7 separate regions of the Homo sapiens genome follow, and regions 1, 2, 3, 5, 6 and 7 are each linked to region 4. Evidence: promoter capture Hi-C in 16 types of primary human blood cells and fetal thymus (Javierre and others, 2016). All regions are on one chromosome and are shown on one strand. The core of a region is centred on a gene start or on the middle of the fragment in contact, and the rest is flanking DNA. Distances in the headings are between cores, read along the strand shown.

What was found. Contacts are between HindIII fragments. The CHiCAGO score rates a contact against its expected background, and 5 or more counts as called.
Region 1: a contact is called between a fragment that was not itself captured here and the fragment with the promoter of RYBP in region 4, in 2 of 17 cell types (naive CD8 T cells and total CD8 T cells). The highest score is 5.3, in naive CD8 T cells.
Region 2: a fragment that was not itself captured here is called in contact with the fragment with the promoter of RYBP in region 4 in 1 of 17 cell types (M0 macrophages); the score reaches 5.2 in M0 macrophages.
Region 3: a contact is called between a fragment that was not itself captured here and the fragment with the promoter of RYBP in region 4, in 2 of 17 cell types (naive B cells and M1 macrophages). The highest score is 5.2, in naive B cells.
Region 5: a contact is called between a fragment that was not itself captured here and the fragment with the promoter of RYBP in region 4, in 6 of 17 cell types (M0 macrophages, megakaryocytes, M1 macrophages and 3 more). The highest score is 7.4, in M0 macrophages.
Region 6: a contact is called between a fragment that was not itself captured here and the fragment with the promoter of RYBP in region 4, in 1 of 17 cell types (naive B cells). The highest score is 6.8, in naive B cells.
Region 7: a fragment that was not itself captured here is called in contact with the fragment with the promoter of RYBP in region 4 in 5 of 17 cell types (naive CD4 T cells, neutrophils, naive B cells and 2 more); the score reaches 6.1 in naive CD4 T cells.

The regions. Positions count from the first base shown.
Region 1 is chr3:73,000,370-73,003,069 of GRCh38, reverse strand. The region is part of intron 2 of PPP4R2 (protein phosphatase 4 regulatory subunit 2); the gene reads right to left. Among named protein-coding and RNA genes, the nearest start is that of PPP4R2, 4.9 kb to the right of the region's middle. The HindIII fragment of the contact is 3,648 bases long and covers 1-2,700 here.
Region 2 is chr3:71,705,189-71,707,888 of GRCh38, reverse strand. The region is part of intron 2 of EIF4E3 (eukaryotic translation initiation factor 4E family member 3); the gene reads left to right. Among named protein-coding and RNA genes, the nearest start is that of EIF4E3, 19 kb to the left of the region's middle. The HindIII fragment of the contact is 4,662 bases long and covers 1-2,700 here.
Region 3 is chr3:71,844,381-71,847,080 of GRCh38, reverse strand. No RefSeq gene overlaps it. Among named protein-coding and RNA genes, the nearest start is that of PROK2, 61 kb to the right of the region's middle. The HindIII fragment of the contact is 812 bases long and covers 993-1,804 here.
Region 4 is chr3:72,445,361-72,448,060 of GRCh38, reverse strand. RYBP (RING1 and YY1 binding protein) reads left to right here and starts at 1,438. Exons shown (of 4, transcript NM_012234.7): 1 at 1,438-1,565. The coding sequence starts at 1,438. RefSeq lists silencers at 592-1,001, 1,062-1,121. The HindIII fragment of the contact is 10,688 bases long and covers 1-2,700 here.
Region 5 is chr3:71,888,996-71,891,695 of GRCh38, reverse strand. No RefSeq gene overlaps it. Among named protein-coding and RNA genes, the nearest start is that of PROK2, 110 kb to the right of the region's middle. The HindIII fragment of the contact is 1,718 bases long and covers 540-2,257 here.
Region 6 is chr3:71,927,578-71,930,277 of GRCh38, reverse strand. No RefSeq gene overlaps it. Among named protein-coding and RNA genes, the nearest start is that of PROK2, 140 kb to the right of the region's middle. RefSeq lists an enhancer at 1,591-2,456. The HindIII fragment of the contact is 6,016 bases long and covers 1-2,700 here.
Region 7 is chr3:71,730,950-71,733,649 of GRCh38, reverse strand. It overlaps a transcript of EIF4E3 not described here. Among named protein-coding and RNA genes, the nearest start is that of EIF4E3, 6.9 kb to the right of the region's middle. The HindIII fragment of the contact is 2,144 bases long and covers 189-2,332 here.

The DNA of each region.
Region 1 (2,700 bases), core at 8-2,507, 560 kb before region 4:
TTTTAGACTTTCTGATGTGTAATGTTGGTTACAATCAGTAATTACAAGACATCCTGATTCTATCATACCCTGCCTGTGTTCTTGAGAGAACCAGGATTCCTGGTATGCAAAAAGTTATAAAAACCCTGGGCCAGGCGCAGTGGTTCACACCTGTAATCCCAGCACTTTGGGAGGCCAAGGTGGATGGATCACGAGGTCAGGAGATCGAGACCATCCTGGCTAACACAGTGAAACCCCATCTCTACTAAAAATACAAAAAAATTAGCCAGGCGTGGTGGCGCATGCCTGTAATCCCAGCTACTCACGAGGCTGAGGCAGGAAAATCGCTTGAACCCAGGAGGCAGAGGTTGTAGCGAGCCGAGATCGCGCCACTGCACTCCAGCCTGGGTGACAGAGCGAGACTCCGTCTCAAAAAAAAAAAAAAAAAAAAAAAAAGAAAAGAAAAGAAAAGAAAAGAAAAGAAAAATCCCTGTGCACTCCCATGTTTACTGCAGCACTATTCACAACAGCCAAAATATGAAACCAGCTCAGTGCAATGGCTCATGCTTTGTAATCTTTGCACTCTGGGAGGATTGCTTAAGGCCAGGAGTTGGAGATCAGCCTAGGCAACATAGCAAGACTTTGTCTCTACAAAAAAAATTATAAATTAGCCAGGCATCGTGGCATGTACCCTATCTGTAAGTCCTAGCTATTCAGGAGGCTGAGGCAAGAGGATCCCTTGAGCCTAAGAGTTTGAGGTTGCAGTGAGCTATGACTGAGTTGCTGCACTAAAGCCTGGGCAACAGCAAGACCTTGCCTCAAAAATACATTTTTTTAAAACAAGGAACCAACCTGAGTTCCCATCAATGGAAAAGAAAATGTGGTATATTATTCAGCAATAAAAAAGAATTAGATCCTGTCATTTGCAACAACATGGATGGAACTATAGGCCATTATGTTAAGTGAAGTTAAGTCAAGCACAGAAAGACAAACATCACGTTTTCACATATGTGGGAGCTACAACAGTGGATCTCACAAAGGTAAGAGTCTAAAGACTGATGATTACTAGAGACTGAGCAAGGAACAGGAGAGATAAAAGGGGAGAAAAAAGAATATACATGTATTTATTACCACCAAACTGTACACTTAAAATGCTAAAGATGGGGCCGGGGGCGATGGTTCACGCCTGTAATCCCAGCAGTTTGGGAGGCCAAGGCAGGTGGATCACGAGGTCAAGAGATAGAGATCATCCTGGCCAACATGGTGAAACCCTGTCTCTACTAAAAACACAATAATTAGTTGTGTGTGCCTGTAGTCCCAGCTACTCAGGAGGCTGAGGCAGGAGAATCGCTTGAACTCAGGAGGTGGGGGATGAAGTGAGCCGAGATCGCGCCACTACGATCCAGTGTGGCATAGGGCGAGACTCCATCTCAAAAAAATAAAAAAAAAGAAGAAAGAAAACTAAAATGGTAAAGATGGTAAATTACATAAGTGTGCAAGTGTGCATGTGTGTGTTTGAGACAAGGTCTTACTCTGTTGCCCAGACTGGAGTGCTGTGGCACAATCACGGCTCACTGCAGCCTCAACCTCCCAGGCTCAGGTGATCCTCCTACCTCCTCCTCCCAAGTAGCTGGGAGTAGCTGGGACTACAGGCGCATGCCACCACGTTAGGCTAATTTTTTATATTTTTTGTAAAGACGGGTTTCACCATGTTGCCCAGGCTGGTCTCGAACTCCTGGGCTCAAGTGACCCTGGGCCACCTGCCTCAGCCTCTCAAAGTTCTGGGATTACAGACATGAATCACTGCACCTGGCCAGTAAATTATATAAGTATATTTTACCTAAACAAAAAAAAAACTTTTTAAAACGCTGTATTCCTCATTCTGAATTGCAAGTCTTAGTATTTTATGTAGCTGAGTAATAATAAACTTCTCTACCACCAAGATTGTAGTCTTGAAATGCCATTTCCCACTAAAAGGCAGGTCTTCTTGAGAAATATCTGATTCACATCTGGGGCAGGAAATGAGCTTGGAACATATTCTTATACCAGAGAATAAGGATACTATCAAAAACTACTAAGGTCACGTCAAAAGGACTCTGGAGCCAACTGGAAAAGGCTACCACTGACCAAATGGGAGACAACTTGACCGTCAAAAAGGATAATAATTGCAACTCAAACCCATCAAATACCTTTAAATCCATGACTGAAATGCATCAAGTGTTTAAATTCATGATTGAAACACACCATATGTTCCTGTTTATTCAGCGCATACTATATATTTAGCATGATGTCAGAAACTACATTACCTTCAGAAGAGTGTATTCTTTCCAACATAAAAACAATTTTTTGAAGTGGCCAGAAACAATTCACCTGGGGATTAATTATTTTAGTTATATACATATATAGTTTCCCTCTTCACATCAATTTAGTATGTCTTGGCATCTTTCCTAACTTCCTACATCAGATGTTTACAGGTAATTTTAATAGACTAAGAAGTAAAAATGTTCAAATTTTTCCTACGGCCTCCTCCATTTTTCCTACAACCTCCTCCATTGTAAAAGCCTATACTTACAATTCTAAAACCTCTCTAAAGCTAAAAGCAAGTGTCAAATCAATTGTCTTTTGAAAAGAAAACTAAGCAGCCTGGGGGGTCACTGATTTTGATCCATAAACAGTTTCACATACTACTTCTGTTAATGCTTTCTTGCTATAATGCATCAG
Region 2 (2,700 bases), core at 53-2,552, 740 kb after region 4:
AAAAAAAAAAAAAAAAAGAATGAATTAGAAGTTAATAAATGAACCACTTTCCTGAGTCACAACAGACTGCTCCCGTAAGAATTCTGTGGGCTGCACATTCTCAGTGGGGGCCAAAGTTGATTCTTGCAGGGGAAGTAGATCAGTGAACAAATCTCATTCTTTTTACGTACAAAGCATAGATGTCCATGCAGTCCATAAACATACGGTGTCTCTGTGGTATTAAAATTTCGTCATAGGTGATTAGGAAAAAGGGTTCTTTTAGGGCCTAAGGGGGGAACAGTGAAAAAAATGGCTGATAAACACTGCCCTAAGGATCAGGAAATTCCTTTCTGTCTCAGCTGTCTCTGCTCCCTCAGTTTCTCATCTGTAAAACTGAGGTAGTAATAGTGCCTACTCGCTAAGGTAGAGTGAAAGTTAGATGAGATGGTATATAGTTCTTAGTAATGCTTGGCACTTAGCCCTCAGATGTGGCCAGCTTTTACTTAAGTGTTACTGGATTCTACCCCTCAGCTCCATCAGTTACCTGGCTAGGGTGTGGGCTAGGGTTGTCACAATGCCTTGGTTGATGTCCCATATGTGACACTTACTAGCTTGGACAAGTTATATAACCTGTCTGAATCTCAGTTTACTCATCTGTAAGATGGAAATAATTGTGATGGTAATTTTATCATGCTGTTATGAGACTTAAATGATACAATGAGGTAAAAAGCCATAGTAAGTACCCAATCATCTGCCATAATTTGTCTACTTCTACTGAGATATCTTTTCGTGCTTTCTTCAGTCATGTTTTATATCAGGAAACTATATACCACTGCTTCTAGATTATTTATTTCAAGTGATTATACTCTGGATCGCACCACCACTAACACAGAGGTGTATGTAAAGATATTTAACTTATCAATAACTTTTGAGTTTTCAGCCTGCGAGTGTCCATAACAGCTGATAAATTGTCCTTAGTATTTAAGAACTGGCCAGGATACTATCTTGTAAGTAATTTGAGGATATGCTTTTGTCCCACTGTCTTTTTATTTTATTCTAGGATTGTATATTAATTTTTTTTTCTTCAGAAACAGGGTCTCACTTTGTCACCCAGGCAGGAGTGCAGTGGTGCTATTATAGCTCACTGCAGCCTCAAACTCCTGGTCTCAAGAGATCCTCCCACCCCAGCCTCCTCCCAAGTATCTGGGACTATAGCCATGTGCTACCACACCCAGCTAAATTATTTTATTTTTTTTGTAGAGATGGGGTCTTGCTATGTTGCTCAGGCTAGTCTCGAATTTCTGACCTCAAGCTGTGTTCCCTCCTTGACCTCCCAAAGTGCTCAGATTACAGGCATGAACCACTTTGGCCTGTACGTTGATCCTTTTACTCTCACTCCATTAGCACTAAAAAAAACTGCTTCTCCAATTATGTCTGTGTTTTCCTCCCATATGTGTTTAGATGAAAGGTAAAAATCATGTGATATTAATGATTGTCTTATTAAAGACATATGAGTCTTTTTATACTTTGAGGCCCTTTAGCAAATCAAAGTAGATGGTTTGGGAGAGGAATCGTTACCCCGTCTATTAGTTGAGGAGACTGAGGCTGGAGGTAAGAGGCCCAAACATTCCATGATTGGAAAGAGCCAGTCATGCCTTGCCTCTAGGACTAGAATTCCCTCCCAGTCCAATTCTCTTTCTTTTACTCCCCGTGATTGAGGAGTGGAGGAGACTCAGCCTCCAAAGGACCTGGGAACCCCTGCTGAGGACACTTTCATCACACCTAACAATAATTCTCTCTGCCTGGAGTTAAATTCATTTCTACTTTCCTAACTTTCTTGGAAAATTCCATTTTACATCTAGGCGTATTTTCCAGATGCTTATTGATTCTCTTACTCCTTTGTGAACCTGTCCAAATTTTCCACATTTCTCTTGTGATTTTGCATCCTCAGTGGTTGCAGTGCAGAATAGAAAATGGCTTTTAGCCGGGTGCATTGGCTCATGCCTGTGATCTCAGCTACTCAGGAAGCTGAGGTGGGAGGATTGCGTGAGCCCAAGAGTTCGAGTTCAGCCTGGGAAACATGGCAAGACCCACATCTCTGGGAGAAAAAAAAATAGAACACGGCTTTTGAACAAGCCCTGTTTTACCTGTTGGAGAATGAAGAGCTACCTGCCATTTGTGATTTGCAAGAGAAGTCTCCCTTCTCCAGTTTCTTTCAGCCTTATCTGCTACAAGACTAAAAATTCCACCCCTGAAAACTCATTCCTGTACAGCACTCTGTCTCGAACATCAGTTATTTGGTGTATCGCCTTAAAGATTTTGCCACACCTATCTCACTTGTGGTACATTCTACCCAGTATTTCTTATAACTTGACTTCTTATTTAAATTTGCATAAAACAGAAACCATATTTCCTCTATAAGTGGAAATTCAGCATCGTTTATCATAAGCAGAAAGTCTTCCTAAAGAGTATATATAACCTATTGAAATTAAGAAAATGTTTCCCCTGCATATGCCAAACCTATCCTGTGTGCTGTCGATAATATCAAGACTTCATATCCGCAGGTCAAGCCGCCTGACTGGAGTTGTGCAGTTAAGTTAGGGCAGCAGATTGCTTTCCAAACCCTTGGGAAATGAGGGCTCTTCCTTCAGAAGAAGAGGTTTTCTAGGTCAGTATTGATCATGGAGGATGGTGGAAAGATTGATTCCAAGTACTTGCTGC
Region 3 (2,700 bases), core at 149-2,648, 600 kb after region 4:
CCAGGAATTCAAGACCAGCCTGGGCAACATAGTGATGCCCTGTCTCTACAAAAAATACAACAACAACAACAACAACAAAATTAGCCCAGTGTGACAGTAGTTGTAGTCCTAGTTACCCAAGACACTGAGGTGGGAGGATCACCTGAGCCCAGGAGGTAGAGGCTGCAGTGAGCAGTGTTTGCGCTACCGTACTCCAGCCTGGGCGGCAGAGTGAGACCCTGTCTCAAAAAAAAAGTACTGAAGTGGAAAGGTAAAGATCATTGGCTGAAAATGTAAGTTTTAAGACAGTAAGTGGAGTGTCATCTCACACTGGTAAAGCAGAATACATACTAATATGTGTGTATATAAATACAAATATATGTACAAATACATAAAGATTCGGAAGCATATGGACGAAGATCTAACATATGGTGATTCTGGGTGATGGTAAGGTGAAGTTTTTGTTTGTGTTTCCTAATTTTCTATAAATATAAATGCACTGCTTCTATACTAGTGAAGAGGTTATTCAATATAAAAGAGATAAAGACGCTACTAAGTGTCTCGGAGGTGCCAGAGACAAGCAGCTATTTTACAGTGTTTATGCGCGTGCGTTTGTTTAGGAAATGCTCTATCCCGATAACGTTGCAGATAATACGTGCGGACAAGGGGAGACCTATGAGGCTCAGCAGCTGCTGAAAGGGTTTAGCTAATCTCGAGGATCTGGTAAGTGGATCACTTCCTTGTGACACCACAGAAGCTCCAGCCATCAATTTGGATTAGTCAGTCAGCATATCCCATTGGGCAGCATGTTCTAGAGTGTTCTAGTATGAATCATTCATGGAGGCTTCTGGTTATGTTACTTGGTTTCCCTCAGAAATAATGGCCCCAGGGATTGAATGCTGTGTAACAGAGAAAGTGAATAAATTGGTGCAGGCCCTGCCAGGTGTCAAACAAATAGGAATATATCACAGGAAAAGTGCTCCATCTATAATTAATGACAACATTTTTAAGCTTTACCAGAAATTGATAATACAGTGGTTTCTTTTAATGCATTTTCCCTTTAGTAATGTGTACATATTTTAAAGTAGGTCTAGCATTAAATATACATCAAACTCTTCTTATAGAAAAATGTAATCGTTGAATAGAAAAATATTATATTTATAAATATCTCATTGTTACATTTTATGCAATTATTCACTCTGGGTGTTCAGTGTAGAAGTTTCAGGAATATAATACTTGTCACAGAAAGCATATTCAAGACTATCAAGTAAAAAAGCAAACTTATGACTGCCAATTTTTTTGAACTTTTGGCATAATTTCCAAATTGCTACTGTCATAATAAAAATCTAGATTGCCACTAGTTTGTCTTGGAATTACATGGCTATCTTTTAAAATAAGCATATATTGTCATTTCTGAGTTACAAACCCATTTAGGTAGCTTAATCTTTCTAGCAGTCAACTGAATAATTAAATAGTAAGGTAAGAGCTTTTATTATCCCTCAAATCTGCAATTGAACATTTGCCATGAAACAAATGGATACATTTCTCTTCAGGATCCATTAGGGAGAAAGGGGAATTTTAAAACTCTTAAAGTCTAGCAAACAGCAGTTGTTCAAGTGTTAAGTTCTACCAAATAAAATTAAGTGAAATCAAATTCTCTTCCCATTTGTATACTTTATGTCTTTGTTCAAATTGCTTGTTCTGAGACACAATAGGCTGTCACACCTGTCCCCTAAATTTCCAAAACATTAAGTCATCACTCTATTGTCTAACTTCTATTAGTGCCATATGCATTCTCCCTTAAATTTGAGAGTAAACACAAGCTTTAACAAGTTCCCAAAATCATCTTATTTTTTTCAAGAGTCTCCAACAGTCAACATTGTTATCAAGTCCCTAAGAATATTATTGTTTCATTATAGTTCATTTGCAATTGATACACAATATGATTTTTTGGTTATAGACAAAGAACAAGAATGATTTTGTGCACCTTTGTATTTATAAGTGGTCTCTCAAACTGCTGGCCCAGGGATCCATCAATAAACATCCATCAGGTTTATTGAGCATAGTTATCTACAAAGTGTTTCATCTAAATGAGGAAGGTGGTGGGCATCACAGGAGGAGAAAGGCAAAGCCTTCAGAGCTAGATAGTGTGCATTGCACATATTCATTCTTCTATATACAACAAGAACTTGCAATACACCAAGCATCATGCTAGGTGTTAGAGACACAGCAGTGAACAACACAGGCACTCACGTAATTTTCAGACTGCTGGGAGCACCAGATATTTGAAGTAACTATGCAATTAATTAACTGCAATCATGAGAAGTGATATGAAATACACACATGATAAGAGTATGTAACAAGGCAACCTGACCTGTTGGGGACAGAAAATGAGGGCTGAATGGTGGGCAGGGGATCACTTAGGAAAGGCTTAACTAAGCAAAGAGAAGGAGGAGAAGGAGTTAGTAGATGAAGAGCAGAGAGTATTACAGACAAGGAGGGAACAGCATGTACTAAGGCCCTGGGGTGGGAAGGAGCATAGCAGTTCTAGGAATTGAAAGAAAGCAAGGATGGTTGAAATGCAGAGACTGAATAAGAGAATGGCAGGATATGGCCAGAAAGAAGCAGAGGTCAAGGAGATGATACAGGTCACCCAAAAGACACCATGTAAATTTCATTTTCTGGGGTTAGGTTTGAGAAAAAAGGAAAGATTGGGCCAAA
Region 4 (2,700 bases), core at 189-2,688:
GAACGCGGGGGAAATGGTGCACAATTCAGGCCCAGTTATAATAGCTCCTAATACCCAATATCTTGTTTTGGTCCTTCGTGAATACCAGGCATCCATCAGCGAACCTTCCATGCCTGATTTCTCCGAATATTCAAAACAACCCTGGGAGGATGAGCCCCATTTTGGAGATGAAGGAGCTGAGGCACGAGGTTTTAATGCGGGCATGTGGTCGCCAGAATTTGAATAGCAACTTCCCTAAGGAAACGCCCTATTTAGACTCTAGGGGAGAGGAGGATCCCAGGAGGAGTCCGCCAGCAGAAGCTCAGAGTCTGGCCTGGGGGCATTTAGTTATGCCACGCCCTTTCTCTACTGTTCCCTCCCGCGACAGGGGCCTGACAGGGAGTGGGGCTTCGGGCCAGCGTCTCGGCCGGACGCAGGGACTTCAGAAGAGGCAAATACAAAGCTCCGCATGGCAGAGGAACAGAGGGGCGCGGGGGAACGCGGTCCAAAGGTGGACCTTGTCGGCCCCTGGGCACTGCAAGCCTCGAGGCGCTGCGAGCGGTGAGGCTGTTGCAAGCTCCCGCGGCGCGCGCAAACTGCGTGGAACTACTTCCCCGGGGCGGCTTCGGGGCCGGGGTCCCGGCAACAGCCTCACGGGGCGCCGTGCGGGGCCCGAAGCCAGTTGCCAGCTCCCGGGCGCGGCCACGTGCGCCCCGCCGGGCTTGCACGCTCCGCCGCGCCGGGCCGCGGGGCCACCGACAGGCACGCGCGCCCCCAGCGCGCACACACTCCCGGGCACGCACACCGACCGCCCGGCCCACGTCCGCCACGCCCCGCCTTCCCCCGCGCCCCGCCTCCGCCCTCGCGGCGCCGGCCGCCGCCCTCCCATTGGCCGCACGGCGCGTGACGCGCGGCGCCAGGCCCCGCCCCTCGTCAGTCACTCGGCGGAGGCGGCGCTGGCGGGGACTAGTCTCGTCCGGAGACTGTGATGGATTTAACCAGGTGGGGAGGGAGGGAGGGCGCGAGCTTGGGAGTGGAGAGGGAAGGAGCCGGCCCACTCCCCGTCGCCGGCCTCGGGCTGCCCCTGCGCGCCCCCTCCAGATCCGGCCCGCGGCTCCCCTCCCGGCCCCCCCAGCCCCACGCTCAAGTCCACAAGTCCGCCCGCTTCCTGCGCCCGCCGCGGCCCTTCCCGGGGCGCCGCCGCCACCGCCTGGTGTGCGAGGCTATCCGGCCCGGGCCCGGGGCTTGCAGGGTGCCAGTGGGGGCGCCCGGTTCCCTTCCTCGCTCTCTCTTCCAGTCCCCGGAAAGGGTGGGTGGGTGGTCTCCCGAGCGAAGTTTCCAGCACTGGATTCCTGCGAAATTACGACGGCTCACCCGCGTCTGTGTTTTGCTGTCTCTCCCCCGTTTTCCTGCTCCCTGCCTCTTCCCTCCCTTTTCCCCCACTCTCCACTCCTCGGAAGGCCAAAAAGACAAGCGAAACCTGCCGCAGACGAAGGGTTTTGGGATTGTAGCGTCTGCACCTTCAGAAACAGTGCTGAAGCCTTTAAATGCAGCATCTGCGATGTGAGGAAAGGCACCTCCACCAGGTACTTGAAGATCTGTGTTACCTTTTGTTAAAGGACTTTTTTTTTTTTTTTTTAAGTGAGAGGGTAGTGAGCCTTACTTTCTGCCCTTTTTCCAACTTGTTGATTACGGCTTTTTTTGTATTTGCGGGTGGGTTGTGTGTGTTTTTGGGTTGAGTGTATTAAGTGTTGGGTGAAAAGCCTTGTGTTCGCTAAATGATTTATGGGAGGGAATTTTTCCAGGTTTTCATTTTATTTCAAACGGACACTGGATTTATTTGACACTTGTGTCTATTGGCTTATTGGTATTGGCTGGGGAAGAGAGGAAGCAGTACTATCGCTATGGATTGTAGGACATAGATGTTTTATATTTTTGCCATGTGTAGAATGGTTTTAATTTGCCTGTCCCGAGTTACTTTTCTCTTGTCTGAGAAATTTAGTGGGGGTAGTAAGGCTGGCTGTGCTTTTCCTGTCTTGAGCTGCAAATGTCTGTTACTTTCTTGCACTTGAAAATAAATGTCGGTATTTGATAAAGTAAGTGCATTTTGTGGGAGACTGAGCTGTCAGTTTTTTTTTTCTTTGACTAGCTTATGTGGGGTGGTGATGGGGGACGATTTTGTAAAATGGTGAAATGAGCAGTGACTGTGGAAGTTTGTGTTTAAAGCTCTGTGATGATGAAAAGAATGTTGAAAGAATTCCTTTTCATTTTGATGAAGGTCGTAAACTGCATGTGATGTTAAAACGAGTTAACTACTTTAGATTTAACATTCATAAATACTTGGATAAAATGTCAAGACTCATGTAGTCTTTTGGTCATCTTTTAATTTATGTCTGAATTTGTTTCATTGGCGTTAGAGTTTGAAGTTAAACTGTTCTTGGTGTCATTTAATGAACAGGCATTGGGTGTGTGTGTGAGACAAGAATGAGTTTTTGGTGGATCCTTTAGAACATTACAGTTGATTGCCAAAAGTCTCATTTTATCAGGTACTTATTTTTGAATTGGTGACATTTCAGTGTGACTGTGTAGTAGTACTTCACAGTTCCAACTGGATATTGTTCTTTGATTAGATGAATATGTCATGTTAAGGTTTCATTGGTTTATTTATACTTGGGATTAAATAGGATTATTGGGCAACCTAAAATAATCTAACTCTGAGAT
Region 5 (2,700 bases), core at 149-2,648, 560 kb after region 4:
TCAGGACCTCACCCAACCAGCAATGGCAAGTGGTCCATTTAGTATGACAGAAACTAGGAAGGACCAATCAGAGCCCTTCCCAGAGAAAAAATACAGATGTTGTGAGATTAAGGATGACCAGTAGCTACTGTGTCAGCTGGGAGCAACAATGGCTATCTTCCCACAGAATGGAGGAAGCCTTTTCTATGGCAGCCTGGGAGAATGAAGAAAGCAGAGGCAGCCAGCTAGGAGAGAGAAGGAGCCTGGAGACAGGGACCACCAGCTCTTAACTCTGAGGGCCTGCCTCCTGCACATCTGCCTTGGATTTTAGGGACTATCCCAGGATCCTTCCCAGCTATCTGAACCAGCACCTTCCCTTTTTGCCTACACAGTTTGAGGTAGAGTTCAGTTTCTTACTCTGAAAGTCTTGGCTGTTAGGCCCCTCAAAGTGGCCTTCCTAGAAGTTGCCCAGTAGAGACTGTAATAATGTCTTCCAGGCAGAGTTCAAACTCAGGCATCCATGGGACTTGGCAATAACTGCCAATTCCTCTTTGTAAGCTTCCCCAAAAAGAAAGGGGGGATCTAGGCAGAAAGAACCCCAAGAACCCCAGAGTTCCCCTGAACCAAGATTCCCAATGAGCCAAATTCCCCTGTCAAGGCTGGCTCAGAGTACCTTGACACTTCAGTCATAGCGAAGGTAAATGCCCCAGGCAAAGCTGGCCCAGAAACCAGGAGCTTGCTTTATGAGAACCGCCCTGCAATACCCAGAGTGAGAAGAGAGAACAACTAGAAACAAAAGTCTTCCCTTTTCTCTGTATTCCCATTTTTAAAGTGTGAGTTTCTCAACTTTGTTTTTAGACTATGGTTAACCTTTTTCATCACTGGATAAGAAGGAAATAAAGGGCTATTTTTGGAGGTATGATGCTTAGGAACATTGTCTGTCCTCTGTATTCAAAGCGAGGCAGCGTGGCTATGAAGGTTTCCTCAGGGTGTGAGAGATCAGCTTGACAGGGCTGGGCTGTCATCAGGAATGTTTCACACATAGGAAAAACTTTTGAGAAATCACTTTGGTTTTGTTTGGCCAAGAGGGTTCATGAAGCAAAGACTGAGTCTTTTCAAATCACTTGAGCCCAAGAGGCGGAGGTTGCACTGAGCTGAGATCATGCCGTGGCACTCCAGCCTGGGTGACAGCAGTGAACCTTGTCTCAAAAAAAAAAAAAAGTGACTCTTAAACAGAACTCCCCTTAGAGGACCTGTCATAGCTAGGAAGAGTAGGGGACATTCTCAGGCACATGCTGTGTCAGCATCCTGGACAGAGTTGGATAGAATTTAGCTTTCCTGGCTCCCCACAACCCCCATAAGTAGGCTCCCTGGGTGTGTGTAAAACACATTGCAGGCAGGCTGCACTTGGAGAAATCCTGGCCACAGGTGGGATTTGAGGGCCTCCAGAGACAGCCCTTCCTTGGATAAGATCCCATCTACCTGCCAGCAGCCATCTCAAGCTAATTCTTTTTTTTTTTTTTTTTTCCTTTGAGATAGAGTCTCGCTCTGTCGCCCAGGCTAGATAGGGTGCAGTGGCGCGATCTCGGCTCACTGCAAGCTCCGCCTCCCGGGTTCATACCATTCTCCTGCCTCAGCCTCCCGAGTAGCTGGGATTACAGGCGCCCGCCACCAAGCCCGGCTAATTTTTTGTATTTTTAGTAGAGACGGGGTTTCACCGTGTTAGCCAGGATGGTCTTGATCTCCTGACCTCGTGATCCGCCCGCCTCGGCCTCCCAAAGTGCTGGGACTACAGGCTTGAGCCACCGCGCCCAGCCCAAGCTAATTCTTAAACTACCTCCAGTGGCCCAATCTGTAAAGCTCTCGCGTGAACTCTAAGTTTCCTTTTAAAATACAAGTGTTTTGAGAAGAAGCATCTTTGGCTTAATCATGAAGTTCTTAGATTAAATCTAAGCTCCCAAGTGTTGCAGTGTGTCCATGAATTTTTTTTTTTTTTTGAGACAAGGTCTTATTCTGTCACCCAGGCTTTATGTATCTATATAGGGTATACATATATAAAATATATATGGAGATACATACAGATATACATTTAGATATATTCATACATATATATGTATATATGTATGTATCTCCTGTTGATTCTATTTCTCTGGAGAACACTGACTAATATTCCATCCAGCCCCAGCCCAGCCACCATCTTCTAACTTCTGAATACATCCAAGCAAGCCTAGACCAGAAGAGCTTCCCAGCTGGTGGTTGGTGCTTGAGCACCCAAGCTTTGTCCACACCCACCACCACCACAAACAGGTGCCCTTTTGTCAACTCTTGGATCTGGAGGTGAGGTGGATGGACCTGGGGAAAAGGGCTGTGTGGGCCCTGGATGTGGACTTGGAGTCAGCAAGCAGGAGACTCCAAGACCCAGGGTACTCAGAATGTGATCTCCAGGTGGTCATGGGCTCCAAGTGGGCACCGTTCCTTGTGATGCAGAAGCCTCACCCCACAGTAAGGGGCCAGAGAAGAGAAGACCAGGGCTCCCTCCAGCAGTGCTCCCCAGTGCAGCCCAAAAACCAGTGCCAGTCCAAGAGCAGTCTGTTTCCCATCTGTGACAGGGGATGAAAAGACATTGAGACACTCGCATAGCAGTTTCAGAATTGAAAGATCTTCATCCAAGCTTGTGGCCAAGTCTGGTCCTGAGCTATGGACCAATCGGGTATTGTTGAA
Region 6 (2,700 bases), core at 106-2,605, 520 kb after region 4:
TTTTTTTTGGTGATTCATTTGATGACCAAACCTGAGCCTAAACTAAACTCATTCATCCCGACTCTGTCTGGCATAATGTAACTTAATCTATTTAGTCCACTTAATGTGAATATTAATGTTTTCCTGTGTAGAAGGATTAATGAGTTCAATGATCGGTGTTAAATAATAAATGGCATACATAGAGTATTGCCTTTCTAACATTCAAAAAATCCTAAATTTCATAACACATCTGGCCCGAGTGTTTTTGTTTGTTTGTTTGTTTGTTTGTTTGTTTTTTGAGATGAACTCTCACTCTGTTGCCCGGGCTAGAGTGCAGTGGCGAAATCTCGGCTCGCTGCAACCTCCGCCTCCCGGGTTCAAGCAATTCTCCTGCCTCAGCCTACTGAGAAGCTGGGACTACAGGTGCCCGCCACCACACCCGGCTCATTTTTGTATTTTTAGTAGAGAGAAGGTTTCACCATGTTGGCCAGCCTGGTCTCGAACCCCTGACCTCAGGTGATCCGCCCGTCCCAGCCTCCCAAAGTGCTGGGATTACAGGTGTGAGCCACTGTGCCCAGCCTGGCCAAGAGTTTTAGATAAAGGATTGTAGTTACCATATATAAGCAAGAAGTTCTGAAACAGCAGGAGAATTTGCTCTAACTAGGGGATTGTTTTAGCAGATAAAAGGAGAATCTACTTCATGCAAAAGACAGTAAACTTATGGACCTCATATTTCTTTTTTTTTTTTTTTTTTTTTTTAATCATTCTTGGGTGTTTCTCACAGAGGGGGATTTGGCAGGGTCATAGGACAATAGTGGAGGGAGGGTCAGCAGATAAACAAGTGAACAAAGGTCTCTGGTTTTCCTATGCAGAGGACCCTGCGGCCTTCCGCAGTGTTTGTGTCCCTGGGTACTTGAGATTAGGGAGTGGTGATGACTCTTAAGGAGCATGCTGCCTTCAAGCATCTGTTTAACAAAGCACATCTTGCACCACCCTTAATCCATTTAACCCTGAGTGGACACAGCACATGTTTCAGAGAGCACAGGGTTGCGGGTAGGGTCACCGATCAACAGGATCACAAGGCAGAAGAATTTTTCTTAGTACAGAACAAAATGAAAAGTCTCCCGTGTCTACCTCTTTCTACACAGACATGGCAACCATCCGATTTCTCAATCCTTTCCCCGCCTTTCCCCCCTTTCTATTCCACAAAAACGCCATTGTCATCATGGCCTGTTCTCAATGAGCTGTTGGGTACACCTCCCAGACGGGGTGGTGGCCGGGCAGAGGGGCTCCTCACTTCCCAGTAGGTGCGGCCGGGCAGAGGCGCCCCTCACCTCCCGGACCGGGCGGCTGGCCGGGCGGGGGGCTGATCCCCCCACCTCCCTCCCGGACGGGGCAAATGGATCATAGAAAGTATAAAATAAATAGGCTCAGAGAACATTTTCCTACCTTTATGGATGATAAATCAACAAGAGGTTAATAAGAAAGACTTAGGGCTACCCAGGATGCCACCACTACATTTATAAAGTTAGTATCACAGAGAATAACTAGCATCTACTCCCATAAGGCCAGTGGCATTATTGTTTTTGATAACAAACATATATTTATATGATGCTTCGGATTGTATCAGGTATTGTTGCAAATGCTTTCTCCTTTAATTCTTGTAAGAACCATGATGAATGGATGTTGGCATTCCCAATCTACAGCCAAGGGCTTCAAACTCAGAGAAGGTAGGAAATTTGTTCAAAGGCACTCAGCCAACATTTACACATAGGGCCTGGATTAGGTTCTTCTGAATCTGAGATCTGTGATCTTATTTTCAACAAACAATAACATTCTTGGATGAAGGGTAACAACTTTTAAAAAGCCTGCTACAAAGAGGCAGCACGATAAAATTTATCTCACAAGCCCAGTCCAACTCATAAATTGTGGCTGAATGACATCCTCAGTTGAGGATTTCAAAATTGTTTCGAGGCCTAACAAGAACTTTGATAATTTACCAGGCCTGACAAGGACTTTGACTATCTATTAGCTTTGATTACCAAGGTACAAAATGGAAGCATGGCAAATGGGTGGATTGCTATTCTTTTTTAATTATACTTTTATTTTTTGGAGATATGGGATCTTGCTATGCTGCTGCCCAGGTTGGTTTCAAACTCCTGGCCTCAAGCAATGCTCCCACCTCAGCTCCCCAGAGTGCTGGGATTACAGGCATTAGCCTTTATGCCTGGCCCTACTGTGCATGTTTAAGGGTTGACTTTACTTTGTTTCATTTAGTCAACAAAAAAACGTCCCTTAGGTGTTTACTGGGTGCAAGGCACTGCAGGATGCTGAGGCTGGCTAGCTCTATGAAGGCTCAGTCCCTGCCCTCGAGGAACTTAGAAAAGTCTCACTGCTGCTCCAATTGTGTAGGAAAAGTGATGCGTGATGCAATAATACTACAGACCCACAAGCCCAAAGAGGGACTTGGAGAAGCAAAGTGAAGATGGTGCTACCAACATAGTCTAGACTTCAGAAGAGAGTGTGTTCTCCTACAAACCACATTAACAGCTCGGGCTTTGGAATTGTACAGGCTTGTGTCCAAAACCTAGTAACTAGAGTGACACCCAGGAAGGGGCTTAGCTTATCTAGATTTCAGTTTCTTCATCTGTTTGAAACGGAAGAAAAAAGGAAATAGCGACCTCAGAAATTTGTCCAGACTTAAAACAACTTGTAGGAATA
Region 7 (2,700 bases), core at 11-2,510, 710 kb after region 4:
AGGACCTCAAAGGTGAGCTCCCCACCCCTCAGGAAGCTTGGGTTAAATATGGTACAGGGAAAGATGGTACAGGAGGTCTTTTTGCAGCCTGACTCATAACCTCCTAATATTTTGCCAAATCAGCTTATATTTTCTGTATCAAGATTTCTTATGTCATAAATATGATTATTTCAGCTTAAAATAAAGCTTCGGAAAGCACAATACACTTCCTCAGAGAACTGGCTTACAAAATGTTCCCCTAAATGATCTATGAACCGTAAATGAAATCCCCAAAACAAAATCTTATCCTTAAAGCAGCTTCTTAGATGTAAACAAATGACTTGCTTGCTGTTGATTTATCCCACTAGGCGAGCAGTTATCAGCTCATAGTGGGGATTAGAGGCCTCCAAGATGGTTGCTGAAATCCTCTGGAACAGGCAGTGCTCCAGGACCCGCTCCTTGTGTATCTACCGTTCGGGTTTTCCCAGGACCAAAGGGTTTTCTGGGACTCAGAACTTTCAGTGCTCAAATTGGAACAGTCCTAGGCAAATTGGGACAGTTGTTCACTCCACCTGTCTCTAGATCCCCAACGAGCATACAAAGGAGGACACTCGTATTCAAAAAGCAGAGAAGATGTAGGGTTATCCCCTCCAGGAACTGTGATAAGGAAACGAGAATCAACACTTGGGTGACCTTTTTTTGACTTTTATGTAGAGCCTCACCAAATGTTCCTGATTTGATCCTTCAGGCAGCACTGCAAAGCAGGTGTTATTGGCACACTCATTTTTTAATTGAGAAAAAAGGAGACTCAGAGGTTCACCGATTTGTCCCAAAGCACATGGCTGTTAGACATTGGCTCAAGCACATGTTTTTGGACTTTCCTCTGATCACATTGCCTCCCTACTGCTCATCGTTTCCTTTCTTTTAAAAATTGCTGAAGACCAATTTGAGGCCTGCCGGCTCTCCCCTTCAGTCCAGTTTCTGATGTAAGCTATCTCTGTATCTCTGATTGATTGGCTGGCCAGGAATGTTCAGAACTACTCTTTGATAAGAAGCCAGTGATTGGCAGAGTGTTTATTACAGGGTTGCACATGATAGCCACAATCACTGGTAATAATCTGTGTGCCTAACAGGAGGAGTTGGTTATACAAATCATTACTCCTCCAATCAGTGGAATTCTGTGTGGCCACAACAAAGGTCTTTAATCAGAGCTCTTAGACTGGCCACAAAACCTATATACTGACATCGTTGGGACTTTTTTTTTTTAAATCAGGGAAGAGATTTTTTTTTAAATCAGGAAAGTAGTTTGGGCACTGCCCAGCTGTGTCTCTAGAACTCTGTGAATCTCTTGTCCCTATCTGGGGTGTGTTTGGTGACTGATTCCCTGTGAGGGAACTTGGCCTGGCCCTTGAAGGATGGTTAGACAATTTAGATGGTCAGAGGAGAGAAGAAAGGTCTCAGGCAAAAGTGTGGAGATATGAGTACATATGGTGTGTTTACCAAGTGGGGAGTAAGCCCATCATTGATTCAGTAAAGCTGGGTCTCCCATGTGCCAGACACCGTGCTAGGAACCCAGAAGACAGTGGTGGAGGGGGTGGGCCCAGGCCTGTCTTCGGGAGCTCATGTTGTGGCAGAGCTGAAAATGCACCAAGAAATAGGGACAAATCTGTTTGGAATATATATATTTCCATGTATAGCTGTTTCTCCAAATATATAGATTTAACATATATATTCCAAGTATATGTAAATATAGGTGTATAATTATATCTCTCTAAATATATTTGGAAATATACTCGCAAATGCATTTGAAAAAGGGGGTCAAGGTGTGGACAATTTCAAAGGCTAGATTCCAGATTTCAGACCTCAGCCTGTGAGAAACAGGCAGCGCTTTAGGGCTTTTGAACAAAGAAGTAATAGGACAAAAGTGCTTTTTAGGAAGACCAACATGCCGTCCATGAGAAAGATACACTGGCAGAGGAGAAAGACAAGAAATTAGGAGACAAAGTCACAGACTCTTCCTTTCAACCAATATCTGCTGTATACCCAGTTTGTTTCCTTAATAAATGTTGCTGGTGTGCCAGCCATGGACAGGCCCTGCACTAGGCACTGGGTGGACAAAGGTGGACAAGAGAGGCCTGGCCCTCCCCACTTGGACTGGATATTCTGTTTCGGAAGATCGGCAGTTGATGTGTGCAGCTGACACGTGCACTGAAAAAAATAATGAGGAAGGGGAGAAGACCTGCTTTAGAGTGGAGGCCTAAGGCAGGAGAAGGAGTCAGCCATGCAAGCGGAGGGACTAGCAGTTCAGGAGAAAGAACAGCATATGCAGGTGCCCTGTGGCCACAGAGAAGCTTTGAGGCAGGGGGAGAGATCAGCCATGGATTTGGAAAGGCAGGAAGGATCCAGAAGATGCCAAGTACTGTTGGCCACCAGAAAGAGTCTGGGTTTTTTTCTGAGAGCAGGCAGAAGCAAACCAGTGTTTGAGGACTGTTGTTCAGGCTGCTGTCTGGCAGGAGATGAGAGGGTCGGGTGTTAGAAGCAGGGAGACCCGTTAGGAGGCTGTTGCAGTCCTCCAGGCCATGCTTGGCTGACTCAGGAGTGAGGACTGGGAGTGGCTGGCACCAGTGGGAATAAAGAAGGAAGAGCAGGCTAGGCACTGTGGCTCACGTCTGTAATTCCAGCATTTTGGAAGGCTGTTGTGGGAGGATCACTTGAGGCCAG